5 separate regions of the Homo sapiens genome follow, and all the other regions are linked to region 4. The links are contacts of gene promoters, found by promoter capture Hi-C in blood cells and fetal thymus (Javierre and others, 2016). All regions are on one chromosome and are shown on one strand. Each heading gives the region's core, a stretch centred on a gene start or on the middle of the fragment in contact. The rest is flanking DNA. Distances are from core to core; before and after follow the strand shown. Region 1 has its middle 44 kb from the start of PTPRQ. Region 2 has its middle 21 kb from the start of PTPRQ. Region 3 overlaps PTPRQ (protein tyrosine phosphatase receptor type Q). Region 4 holds the start of ACSS3-AS1 (ACSS3 antisense RNA 1). Region 5 overlaps OTOGL (otogelin like).

What was found. Contacts are between HindIII fragments. The CHiCAGO score rates a contact against its expected background, and 5 or more counts as called.
Region 1: a contact is called between a fragment that was not itself captured here and the fragment with the promoter of ACSS3-AS1 in region 4, in 2 of 17 cell types (M0 macrophages and M2 macrophages). The highest score is 8.8, in M0 macrophages.
Region 2: a fragment that was not itself captured here is called in contact with the fragment with the promoter of ACSS3-AS1 in region 4 in 3 of 17 cell types (M1 macrophages, M0 macrophages and erythroblasts); the score reaches 6.7 in M1 macrophages.
Region 3: a fragment that was not itself captured here is called in contact with the fragment with the promoter of ACSS3-AS1 in region 4 in 1 of 17 cell types (M2 macrophages); the score reaches 5.6 in M2 macrophages.
Region 5: a fragment that was not itself captured here is called in contact with the fragment with the promoter of ACSS3-AS1 in region 4 in 1 of 17 cell types (endothelial precursors); the score reaches 5.8 in endothelial precursors.

What each region holds. Positions count from the first base shown.
Region 1 is chr12:80,399,042-80,401,741 of GRCh38, forward strand. No RefSeq gene overlaps it. Among named protein-coding and RNA genes, the nearest start is that of PTPRQ, 44 kb to the right of the region's middle. The HindIII fragment of the contact is 1,706 bases long and covers 598-2,303 here.
Region 2 is chr12:80,421,731-80,424,430 of GRCh38, forward strand. No RefSeq gene overlaps it. Among named protein-coding and RNA genes, the nearest start is that of PTPRQ, 21 kb to the right of the region's middle. The HindIII fragment of the contact is 3,115 bases long and covers 1-2,700 here.
Region 3 is chr12:80,497,469-80,500,168 of GRCh38, forward strand. The region is part of intron 14 of PTPRQ (protein tyrosine phosphatase receptor type Q); the gene reads left to right. LOC124902975 (a long non-coding RNA gene) reads right to left here. Exons shown (of 3, transcript XR_007063389.1): 2 at 8-119. Among named protein-coding and RNA genes, the nearest start is that of PTPRQ, 55 kb to the left of the region's middle. The HindIII fragment of the contact is 2,663 bases long and covers 1-2,653 here.
Region 4 is chr12:81,124,436-81,127,207 of GRCh38, forward strand. ACSS3-AS1 (ACSS3 antisense RNA 1) reads right to left here and starts at 1,423. Exons shown (of 5, transcript XR_007063390.1): 1 at 1,149-1,423; 2 at 1-78. The region is part of intron 2 of ACSS3 (acyl-CoA synthetase short chain family member 3); the gene reads left to right. The HindIII fragment of the contact is 1,201 bases long and covers 257-1,457 here.
Region 5 is chr12:80,312,160-80,314,859 of GRCh38, forward strand. It overlaps OTOGL (otogelin like), which reads left to right. Exons shown (of 59, transcript NM_001378609.3): 31 at 1,317-1,473; 32 at 2,146-2,172. Among named protein-coding and RNA genes, the nearest start is that of PTPRQ, 130 kb to the right of the region's middle. The HindIII fragment of the contact is 807 bases long and covers 1,042-1,848 here.

The sequences.
Region 1 (2,700 bases), core at 201-2,700, 730 kb before region 4:
CTCAAGCAATCCACCTCTCTTGGCCTCTTAAAGCGCTGGGATTACAGGCATGAGCCACCATGCTTGGCCAATACCTTCTACTTTTAAAGACTCAAAAGATATGCAGAATCCCCAGGAATTAAAACAAAACAAATATAGTTCACACCTATAACTGTGCTTGAATCCTTGCCATCATGGAGTTCCTAATCTAGCTGAGTACATAAATGTATAAAAAGTAAATTTTCGTGCTACAGTATAAACAAAGATCTACAGGAAAACAGACATGTAAATGTTTATGGCCTGTTACTTCATTGAGGGTACATATAAGTCAGGGTGCCAAGGAGGAGAGGAGAGAGATGAGGTTGAAAAGTGAATTTGGTGAGAGGTACATTATAGACAACAAAAAGTCACAACAGGCTTTTAAGTACCCTCCATGCATGATTATATAGTATCATGTGTGTATTTCAGAAAGATCACACTGGCTAGTAGTATGTAAGAGAGATTGGGAGTATCAAACATGGAGACATAATCCAAGTGTTAGTGTATTAGCAGTAGCTGCAGTGAACTAATGTTGGTTGTCTTTCAATTAAGTTTTTACACTCTACTAAGCACTCTTCAAGCTTACTCTTCACCACAGCCAAATTTTCAAAGAGCTGCTTAGCTAGTAAAGGGAGCCACAGGATCTGCACTGAGGTACAAAGTCTTAACATGATACATGTTTTCCAGACAGAGCAAAAGTGAGATCGCGCACGTGTGTGTGTGTGTGTGTGTGTGAGAGAGAGAGATTTAAAGTTTTCAATTAAGTCTGTAACAGTGGTAATAATGAAGAATTAATCAGCTTAAGAGGCAGTTTAGGAATGGAATCAAAGGGATTTGCAGGATAAAGTGGCACTGGATGGTGAGAAAAGGATCTGAGGATGAAGAGGTAGTGATTTTCCTTTGGTTGTTTGGGTGAAGGATCTTTTCCTCAGGAAGAGCTGGAAAAGGAGTTTATAAATTTAGGTTTGAAAATATGGTTTTGAATCGTTTATAGGGACATCCAGATGGAGATGCCCATTTTGGAGCTATAAATACTTCTCTGAAGCCCTGGAAAGACATGAAATTCAAGATGGAGTGATCGAAGATCTTGAATATGGTAGAATCACAAGAGTGAATGAAGTATTCCACAGTCAAGGAAGGCACAACGGGTCAACTCAGTTTTTGAGTTGGCAGTGTTGGAGGACACAGTGACGCAGACTAAGCAAATGGAAGCAAGAGGGGAGGGAGATGTCAGGGAAGCTGAGATCTCGGGGTTCAATCAACATTCTCAAATGCCGCAGAGAACACACACACACACACAGGCACACACACACGTTAACAAGGAGTGTGGCTTCATACAAAGCCACATATTTGATCTTAAGCCAAAACTGGGCTATTCACAGCCATATAGTCGACTTCTGCTTTTTGTTTTGTTTTGTTTTTAAATGAGATACCAATGTGTCCCACCTCGCGTTCTCCTTCATCGCCCTTCCCTTTCCTCCCTTCTTCTATGCAGAATGCAATTCTCCTCCACATTTCAATGTTTTGGGACTTGCCTCCCACTCCTCTCCCTTCCCAAGGCTTCCTGTCTCCATGGAAACATTCGCTTAATTAACCCAACGCAGGGAGAGGGCATCGCTGGCCCAAATGAAAGCCGCCAGAGCAGCTGCAGCAAGAGCTGGAGCAGAGCGAGAGAAGGAGACTAAAGGGAGGCAGGCTGCGAGGTGGGCTGTGACCCAGGAATCGTGGGCAGCTTGGGCCGCCGCACCCAGAGCAGTGCCAGCACCTCCGGGCCAGTTGCCCTGGCACCCGAAACTTGCAAAGCACAGGCGCCGCGCGGCTGCAGGTCCGGGTCCGGGTCCAGATGGGGGTCAGGGCGGATTGCAGGGGTGCCGTGGCTCCTGCGACTTCTCAGCCTTGCATCCTCTGCACTTTGACTGTCTTCCAGGTCTCAGCTCTTTCCTTCTTTCTCCACCAGTCTAACCATTCTTTAAACCTCAATCTTTTCGTTTATACTCTGCCTCTCTCTCCCTGTTTCAAAAGTTGGTGCTTTTTGACTCTAAAATAGTGTGCATTAGGACAGGGGCTCTTTACACACTCCCAGGGCAAACACAGTGACTCACAGAATTGAATTTGAGTGGGGGTTTGGACTTAAAGAGCGGGCATCCTGGAGCTTTCCACTTTCGCATTTGTATTATGGTACACAGCCTTCAAAATTATAGTTTACGCTTAGATTTAGGGGGGAAATTAATACCATAGCCCTAGAACACTTACATCAGGTTGCTTGGGAAAATGGGCAAAGTTAAAGCTTTGCAGTTTTGTGGAAGGGTCTGGATTTAACTATTAGGCATTTCTTTTTGACTGGGTTGCATTTTATCTGAGCTAAACTCCTGCTTAAGAAGACCTAAAGAGGATTCTGTAGGAATAAACTTGCTTTACAGTGAGCTTTCAGGAGCTTTAAATTTGATCCTGGGGAACTGTTTACTATTAAAATGGTATTTTCAGTTTTAAAAACATATACAAAATACAGGTTTTTTTTCTTTGTATCTTAAGTTGAATACAAAAGTTTTTAGGTCCTTGGGGGCTCCACGTTCCTATGAAAGGCTAGGCAAGCTTTTTAGATGAATATATTTTAAAAATAAATTGAGTTGAAACGACTATTGAACGTTGTTTCTATTTAAGTTTCAGTTTCATGTATTTTGA
Region 2 (2,700 bases), core at 13-2,512, 700 kb before region 4:
TCTTCCTGTCTCTATATATATCCACCTAGGTCATTAGGCTACCATGTATCTTTTCCCTCACAAATTGTAACATTTCCATTTCCGTTGAAATTCAACTTGTCTATAAAATACTCTCAAACTGATGTCAGAAATCACATTACTTTGACAGCATTTTAGCATATTTATAATCATTTCAATACCTATTTATATTTTATTTTTGCTTTCAATTTCTATGTACTTTTTATATCTGTATTCTCTGCCTGTCTTCATTACTTTATAAATCATTATGGGCTACAGTCTTTATATTTGGCAGTTATTGTCTTTAAACAAAATTACTACATGATTATCTAAATACATCAATATTGTGATATCAATCAGCAAAATAAATCAATATATAAGATGATAGTTTAAAGCTGCCATTTTCCCCATTTTCTGAAATAATTTTTTCTTATGCTAGATTAAATCTTCAAAATGGGAAAAAGAAACATTAACACTCATCAGATACAATTTATTTTTAGCTTCAGCAAATATTTGATACAAAGGGGATTCTTTCACTTACTTGTCTAAAATTCATATTTCTTTCTCTGTTGTCTTTTCAGCTTATGCTAATAGTTTTAATCTTTTTGTTTCCTTGAATATTGTGTATTTTCTTCAGTGAATTTGTTCCTGTGTGGTTTTTTGCTGCAGCACCAAAATTAGCTGTATGTGATGGTGTTTGCAATGGCTTTCAGTATTGGAACTGATTACCGTATTTTATAAACTGTCATTGAATGTGTAAACAACTATTTTTAATTAGGATAGAGGCATAGATTAATTAATAAACTATTGTTCTTTTTGACATTATTATGTTTTTTATTCCCTTTTAAGGGATAAGTTAAAAAAAACAATTAGGAAATTTCCAAGAGGAATTTAAGTTTGTTGTGTGTTTGGATAGGTCTGGAAGCACCACTGAATATCCATGAAGGCAAAGTTACAGATTCTTCTATAGACATTCTCTGGAATCGAGTTGATGGGAATTTCCAGCATTATGAAATCACATGCATAAACTATGCTGCTGCTTTCATGGTACGTTATAAAGGGCTCTTAGAGGAATTAAACTTGAATGTTTCATGCTGAAACCAACATTACTGCATTCTTACATTGGATAGTAGTGAAACTAAATAATTCCCAATTGTATTCAGTTGTGGAGCTTTTCTTAAACACATACTTGATAATGTATTCTTTTGGATTGATAGGTTCAGAAGGTAGTTCAAGAAACAGCAATATTCTCTAACCTGGATCCTGCCACAGTGTACACCTTTTCTATTCGGGCTGAAAAAGAAGGTTTTAAAGACATTACTGCTAACATAAAAGAAATACAGACAGGTTACCGCCTATGTAGGCACCTTAGGAGTTTCTTTCATGTTCAGATATTTCCTTGGTCCTTTAAGGGAAGATTAGTAAGTACTTCATTCCTCCCAGGTTTTCTTTATGGGCATTGTCTCTTGTATCTTTTTCTTTTTCCTTGGTATGGGTTATCACAACATCCTTTTAAGTATGTATTGTCAGATGGTAGCATTGCTAACTGCTTATGGTCTGGCCAGAGTTTCCATTTGTGATTTAATTACCCCATTTTCCAATGAAGTGCCACCTTGCCAGTGTAAACATTTTATTCCCAAAGGCAGATGGTGATATATCCCATGGTAATCATATGAAATAAAGGATGACTGGGAAGGATGCATGCAACTGTATAAGCTGTCGTATCTAGTAAAGTAAAATTGTCAACTATTCTACTAAACTATTTTAGTTATTCTTGACGTTGATGCAATGGGTACATTGATTTATATATTTAGAACCTGGCCATGTCTGGTATTCTTTTAATGTAATAAGAAAGAATGAGATTGAGAGAATATCTTCACAATTTGATTCCTTTCTCATATATGGGAGAATTTTAAAGAGAAAACAATATGCCCATTATACACTATTTAATTTAACTTTTTTTCCTCAGGAAAGAAGGGAGGCATTTCATATTCAGATTGCAATTAACTTTCCTGCTAATTAGACTTGGCACTCCTTGGTATTTAATTAGGATGAGTCCTAAAAATAATTAAATATTTCTGAAGTCAGTGGTTACACAAGACTAAGGTATGATCTACTTCCTGCATTTTAGAGGCCAGGGACATTTTGAGTACAATGCTACTGGGACACATTTTGTACACTTAAAGCACACATGTATTTTATTTCAAAGTTTAAAATAATTCTGGCTGTTTTTAAACAATACTTTTAACTTCTCATATCTAGCAGGTAGAATAAAAGGAAGCGATTATCCTCAGCAAACTAACACAGCAACAGAAAACCAAACAGTGAATGTTCTCACTTATAAGTGGGAGCTGAATAATCAGCACACATGGAGACAGGGAGGGGAACAACACACACTGGGGCCTGTCACGGAGGTCGGGGAGGGAGAGCATCAGGATAAATAATACTTGTGGGGCTTGATACTTAGGTGATGGGTTGATACGTGCAGCAAACCACCATGACACATGTTTACCTATGTAACAAACCTGCACGTCCTGCCCCTGTATCCTGGAACTTAAAATTAAATTAAATCAAATTAAATTTTAAGAAAAAGGAGTGCCTTGGTTACCCTCAGGGTTTGCATAGAGTCAATTCCTGAGGGCGGTTCAGGGCTGGCAGGTGCTTTGTGCTATGGAAAATGTTATCTTACTGTCTGTCTTAAAT
Region 3 (2,700 bases), core at 72-2,571, 630 kb before region 4:
TGCTCACCTGCTGTGTGGCCCAGTTCCTAACAGGCCACCAGCTGGTACTAGTCCGTGGCGCTGGGATTGGGGACCCCTGTTATAGAGGTTGCTGGATGGGTTGGGAGAGGATATCCCATCTAAAGGAAGTAAAACAAGCAAGGAATTACTTGTGTTTTAGTTTCGGTGAAACTAGAGTAAGACAGTTTGTCTGTTAATCTTATTTTGTTGTTTATATTGTGTTATAATTATATATTGGTGGCATAACTATTAGGCCAATTCTACAATGTATTTTGAGAATTAATAACTAAATATAAAGTTACTATTTTAATTGTACGTTTAAAACAATAAATATTTACTGACTAGATACTGGTGGAACCACATGAAATAATTTTTATAGGTCACAAATGGCCAAATATCAGCAATTTCATATAGTTCAGCCAGATACTATATACGAATTTCTGTCTTGACCTTGAGGATCTAGAAATCTAGTAAAGTAGCTTACTTTTGTAGAAAAGGATCCTGTTGAGACTATTCACAGAAATGAATACAATGAGATGATACAAAAGAGCCCATAGATAATGGCAGTAGTTGAAAGTGCAGGAATAAGAAAGTAATGAAAGGAGCATTTTACATTATCAAGAGCCTTGAAGTGACACTTAATTGATATTAATCCATATATTGGCATGTTTCATTGCTTTTGTAGATATTGTACCTGAAATAAGTATTTTTGAGAAAAATGTCTGCTCTTTAATGACTCAGTTTTATTTTGCAGTGGATTAAGGAAATGAAACAAGCATATTTTTAGCACCTATTAAGGGTCACGGGCCCTGTTGATAGGTTTCACAGAAACTGTCTTTTAAAAATTCTAAACTAAAGCAATACATTATTGTTATCTTCACAGAAAACTAAGTCTAACGAAAAATGGAGGGTTTGAGAGGTTCATTCATTCAAAAAATATTTATAATATACCAGGCCTTACTGGGGATAAAGTAGTGTAGAAGAAAAGGATTTCCTTCCCTCCTTAAGTTTTATTAGTTGGTGGGTGTTTCATTGCCTAATGGCACCAGCTGGAAAGTGATCAGCTGGAAAGTGATGAGCTGGAATTAGAATCCAAACCCATCTGACTGTAAAACCCATTTCCCTTTCACAGCACATGCTGTTTTTGAAGTAATCAACAAAGCTGGTAAATTATAAACTATATCTAAGATCTCTCTGTTCATTGTTACACTGATATTTTGTCATTAGGCTTCTGCTCAGCATGGGGAGGAAAGTAATAACTTTGAAAGATTCTATTGTGATATGAAATAATAACCATTTTTATGAATGCTTATCAAGTATTTCGTTTAAGTGGCCATAGCATCAAGAACACCTTATTTTAATGATGAATTATAAAGCAATGTTTTTGTTTTCTGATTATTACATGCACATAATCTTTTACTTAGTATTGAAAATGTAATTTTATTTTCTGTTTTATTGTCTGTATGAGTTTAATTCAAAGGCAGGGACAATAAACTTTAAGTGAATATAAATTTTGAGATTTAGTTTAAAATGAGAATTTTAATTTTGGAAAGTGTCTTAGAAAACATGCAGAGCCCTTTATTTTTTAGGTGAGAAGACCTAGGACCATTTGGGTAAAAGGACTCACAAGTTATAGTACATGAGAAGTAAATTGGGGCTTGACTATAGGCCTCCTGACCCCCATTACAGGCCTCACTTAATAGGCTCCTGAGATGGCTAAAAAAATAAAGAGAAGGGGAAACCAACATATCCCATGGCTTCCTAGCCAGGCCTAACAATCAGAGTATAGGGTTTAATGCCCATCTTCCTAATATCTGGTTCTCTGTCCTAAGTTAGGGTAGTCTCAAGTTCTGTGCATTTTCCACCTGGATGAAAATGGAAGACAATGGAATCTACATTAGTGACTTTTCCTAGATTATGTTTGCTACTGTTAAACCACCCACTTTAGCTCCTTTGGCAAAAGAGGAAGCTAAAATGTTAGGTAGGGTCTCAAGTGTCATTTGAAGCAAGATGAGCTCAAGAGCAACTATTTTTCTGGGTTTAGGCCCAAAATAATCTTATTAAATACAGTAATTATACCTTCTATTCATGTAAAAAAATATGGGCCCACTCTTCAATATTGTTTCATGAGAAATTGAGTGATGTGTTAACTCAGTGATGTGTTAATATTACTAATTAAAAATAGGAGTAAGTTATTTGGTTAAATGCCTTATCTTTTTAAGAGAAATAGAGTTTACTAATGCTTGGAAGTAAAACACCCTTGTGTTCAAGCAGGAAAGATCAATACAAGATTGATTCTGTGTGTGTGTGTGTGTATCTCTGTGTGTGTTTGTGTGTGTTTTAATCATAGATGTGCAGTTTTCCAATAAGCCTAAGATTAGTTTTTATTTTCTCATACTTAGGGTGTAATAATCATAAATACAACTTTGAGAAGTTCCCATACAAATTACTCTTTTGATGATCTATACATATTCCCTTTCCTTTTTAAGACACAACCATCTTTACTGTAAGCCTTTAACAAAACACCTTGTCTGATTTGGGGCAACAACCATGAGTGGATAATAACTTAGATGTTGACCAAAATTTTGTGTAGACCCCCATAAATTTATTTGTATTAATGAATAACATTTTAAAATTTGTCTGCATACATTAAAGCTTTATATGCCAAACAATAGTCTTTTGGCAGATTCAAGGTAACTT
Region 4 (2,772 bases), core at 173-2,672:
TCACTCTGTGGCAAAACTCCAGACCTGGATCAATCCAATTTCTTATTGTCTTCATTACTGTATCTGATACGTTGAATCCTGTTAAAGAAAAATCACGTAACTACAAATATAGATTTAATATAAATTTATGGTATCCAGTGTCCACTGGGACTTCAATGCTGCATTTTCTTTTTTTCTTTAGCATTTCTCGAGTAAGTTTCTCTTTTACTCTCCAAAGGCCATTTTAAACTTTTGGCTTTCCTGCCTCTGTGCCTCAAGCTTAACAGGGTACATTGATTCAAACCTAGCAATGATTATATAAATTTATTATCACCAGACCAACAGACTTGCCTGTATCCACACCCATTGTTTTCTCTTTCCCTCCTTTTAAAATAGAAGGTAATCTTTCTTTGGTCTCCTGGAGCCATTCTATCAATTCTTTTTAGGGCTCTTGTTCTGTTAATCTATCTTATACCTATCTCACTGCTGGCTCTTTCTCTTAAAAGCATGCATAAATTGTCCGGGCTTGGTGGCTCACGCCTGTAATCCCAGCACTTTGGGAGGCCGAGGCGGGCAGATCACGAGGTCAGGAGATCGAAACCATCCTGGCTAACACGGTGAAACCCTGTCTCTACTAAAAATACAAAAAATTAGCCGGGCGTGGTGGTGGGCGCCTGTAGTCCCAGCTACTCGGGAGGCTGAGGCAGGAGAATGGCGTGAATCCGGGAGGCGGAGCTTGCAGTGAGCCGAGATTGCGCCACCGCACTCCAGCCTGGGCAGAAGAGCGAGACTTCGTCTCAAAAAAAAAAAACAAAACAAAACAAAAAAAATACATAAATGTTTCTACTACTAGCTAGTTTCTTATCTATTTTCATTCACTGATTAACTTCAGAAAAATGCCTTTTAAATTTCCTTACCACACACATAACCAAAACCCTCTAAAATATGCTACTGCCTCATTTAGCTAAGGTAATTAATGCTTTCTTCTTATTAATTCCAATAGGTGTTCAATATTTTACTTCCTCTCTTTATTATGTCTAACATTTTTGTCCATTCTCTGCCAGTCTTCACTTAACTTCTATATACCATTCTGCCCTCATTTTCCTTTCTTTCCTGTGTTCATTCTAATTATCCTTCTTAAATGCTTCTTTTGCCTGTCCCTTCACTACCTGCTTCTAGGTTGCCTTCTTTTTCCATTTTACACATCCCGCCTGGGTGATTATATCTGCGCCAATGGCCTTTTTTGCCACATATGTGATGGTTACTCCCAGTGGCAACGCTGGCTATTCTCAGTTCTGTGTCATCAGCCCACATCTCTCTTCTGATGTTGAGATCATATGCAGGATTGCCGAGTAGGTGTCTATACATGGTTGTTCCACTAGCGTCTCAAATTTAAACGTGTCCAATGTGAATGGCATCACTTTCCAATCAGTTGCTAAAACCCAAACTGTGGCCCCATTCTTAATATTTCTCAAATAAGCTTATTTATTTTTACCCCTATTACGCAATAATCGAGTTTATGCAATAATCATTACATTAATGATTCTAGTTTATGCAATAATCATTACATTTTAAGAATGTGGAAAGCACTTACTTTTAAAGAGGATGAACATTTTTCAATTATTACACATTGTTTTTCGGGTTAGTCTAAACTCGATGGGCATAACAAGACTCTGTATCATGTCTAATATTGTTTCTTCATGCCTTTCCAGTTCATCTCACAACCCACTTCATCCTGAATGTTTTCTCTCTCTATACTAAACTGCCTTCACTTTTTCAGCCAAATGGCACATGCTGTGATGATTAGAGATATTGGCAGCAACTCTCCAGTGAGTAAAAGCAGGAGAAAGTTACAATTACCCAATTATTAATGTCTATAGTGGAGAGATGTTAAAATGGTAAAAAGTGGATGCAATCCTTAATTATTCTTTGTCTGTGTATTTTCTTTCCTTTTTATTGCATGCACCCTAGTCCTGTTGTGTGTTAATAACAGGCATCAATTGCATTTTCCATTCTTTTAGACCTTGGACTTCTCCTTGACGTAGAATTATTTTCTCTGTCCACAATGGCCTGTTACACAGAAATACTGTTTTAAAATTAACAAAATATGCTTTACAAGATGTGATGAATTCTGATGATTTTCTTGTAAATTTTAACATAAGTATCAAGGAAATGGAAGACAATATTCCTTATCAAGACTGAGCACATATACATAGGGAAATACAGGATTTAACTAATTTTCTGTGAAATTACAGTCTGAAAATCACAGTAGTCTTGAAAGCAAAGATTATTGAAATACTGATTATTTTGAGCTTGAACTAAAGGGATTAAATAATTATCTATTTCACTTTGCTTGTGAATACATAGTCTGAAAATGACTAAATATTGATTGAAACCCATGTGTGAAGAAACTGGTAATGAGAAAAATGATAATTCTGAGTAATGGTATTTACTCTTTCATTTGAAGAAAATTATTTGAGAAGAAATGTGCTAGTAAATGTTTTCTAGACCACTATCAGATAACTATTTTGAATGTAAGATAGCGTTTTGTAATTGTTCTTGAAAAATTTAATACAATGCGATTCTTAAATATAAAATAAGTATTCCTCTGTGTTTTAGATAAATAATAATACATTTTACTTGTAAGTGTAAATGTAATGTTTTCATCTTTAAAAGAAAGATTTTTCTTTTTTAGATAACATCTCTAACTTTCCTGGTTTTAAGAGACATATCTCAAAATAAATTGGCTTAGCATAATATCATCTTCAATGAAAATTATTTCAATGCTGTATC
Region 5 (2,700 bases), core at 195-2,694, 810 kb before region 4:
TACCTGAAAAAGATATTAAAGTACTCCTTCCTTTCCAACTAAATATATGCATGGAACCGAATTTTCTTCATCTATGTCAATCCAAACCCAAACAAGACAAAAACATTACGATAGACCGGATGAAGAAGCAGATATGAGAATCCCCCAGTGTGCTATTAAGCCACACATTAAAGAGATTTGCAAAAATGTAAAACAGTGCACTCTTTTCACTATTTCTTAGCATATATAAATATTTTTCAATAAAATCATGTTATTCATGTAAACATATAGGGTTTATTGTTATTTTTAAATGTCTCATTTTTAATGTCTAATAGAGTAAATATTGGTAGATATAATCCCATAAACAAAACCTCTTTGGGGATCTCAGTGATTTTTTAAGAGTGTAAAGGGATTCTGAGACAGAAAAGTTTGAGGACTGCCATATTAGAGCCACATAGGTAGACTAAAGTCTTGTTTATAAAAAGGGTTGCTTTTGAGACTTTTCAGAGTTTCCAAGGACCACACCTGCTTGACAAGGAATATTGTGTCAAGTCTGGAGTCCTGAACCACAGAGCCTGCTGGTTCTTTTCCACTTGAAAAGAAAAATTAACCCATGAACTGACCTAAAAAATAAAATACAGCTCAGTGACAGCAAATCCTGCTTCTTTTCTTCTTCTTCTTCTTTTTTTTTATTTGAGACAGAGTCTCTGTCGCTCAGGCTGGAGTGCAGTGGTGCGATCTCAGCTCACTGCAACCTCCGCCTCCCGGGTTCAAGTGATTCTCCTGCCTCAGCCTCTTGAGTCCCTTGCTCCTTTTTTAATGCACTGTCAATATATTAAATTTTGTCAGCTACTTAAATGTAATGCAAATAAATAAATTAAGTAAATAGAATAAGTTGTTTTTAAAGATTGCTATTACCATTAATAGCCATTAGGATGTTGCATGAGCAGGGGCAAAAAAGAAAGGAAAGAAGGAAGAAAGATACGAAATTATATAAAATTACAATTGGAAGCAGAAGGTGCCCTTATTTTAATGTCATGTGATTACATCAATAATGACAGAAGCTTCCAAAAATTAATCTGTTATATTGCAGATGTTGAAGTCATATATATTTATTAATCTTATTATTTCTTTTGCTAGTTCTTTGATGTGACATTTTCCTAATACATTTCTTTCTCCTTTGGGCAATAAAGAGGCTTTAAATAAAGAGAACTCTCTAGGTGGCAGTGTTAAGCTGATAATATCAAACTTTGAAAACACATAGTTTTTTAGACGGTTGACTTTAAATCATAATCAGTATCTATTGAAATTAAGTAATCTTTCACCTCATTTTTCAGATTGACGTTACTTCTTTTGCCAAAAATTGTCATGAAGATACATGTAACTGCAATCTTGGTGGCGACTGTGAGTGTTTGTGCACTAGTATAGCTGCATATGCATACAAGTGTTGTCAGGAAGGAATATCAATTCATTGGAGATCATCTACTGTTTGTTGTAAGTACCCTACTTAGAACATCATTATGTAGAGAACTGATAAAGAGATACATATTAATTGTTGATTTAGCTTAGAAATAATGCCAGGAGACTCATGGGAATAGAATTAAATTAAAATGACTAAATTTTATATTCCTTTGACAATCATAAATTATAGAATACCGAAAGGACTTATAAAAATAAATTGTGAGATAATATTTTGTTCTGTGTTTTATTGCTGTCATTGTACCATTTGAAATATAAATTATTTAAATACCATCCTTAGAGAAATTGTTTATGACTTTATTTCTTTTATGCCTATGAAGTTTCATCGTTCTGATGATAAATATATTTTAAAAAAATCACCTTGAATTTGCTTTCAGATTTGACTCTTTAAGCTTTTAATTTACTTGTGTAGGTGGTAAGATATCTGAACAAACTTACAATTTGAACACTTTCAGCTGAGGTTTCTAAATTGGCAATATATTTTCCTACTTTAAAACAATTATATGAAATTTAATTAATTACAGCATATCGCTTAAAGAATCTTCTTTGCTCAGAAAAAGTTCCTAAATAATACCATTTTATATTCTTTCACATAGTTATTGATAAATATGTGGCCATATCTTGCCCACATTCAGATAAGTGATTGACTTCTTACATAGTTTAATATTTATTCTTTTTTTCTTTTAGCACTTGATTGTGAATACTACAATGAAGGTATGTGACATTCAAATTAAAAATATCACTATAGTATTCTATTAGGTGTATTTTCATATTAAAAATTTTTGAACAACTTATGCTGTGAACAAACTATAAATAGTTCATAACTATATAACTCCATAAAAGCTTTTAATTTTTAAAATTTTCAAAAATTTCTCAGTATTTGTGTTAAGATTTATTTCCTGAAAACTAAAATAGTGTGTAACTTAAGTTCTCAGAATTTAAGAGGCCCTCAGTACAGTTTTGGAATGACATGAATGAATGGGTGGGTGAAGTTAGTTAATTTTTTAGATAAAAAGGATGAAAGATCTATAACAAATGCATACCTTTACCATTATTTATAAATGTAAACATTGTTCAAATGTTTTTTAAAATTTTATCTTATTTTTAAATTGACAAATATAATTGTATATATTTATGGGGTACAATGTAGTGTTTTGATACATGTACACATTGTGGAATGATCAAATCAGGCCAATTAGCATATCCATCACCTCAAATATTTACCATTGCTTTGTGGTAAGA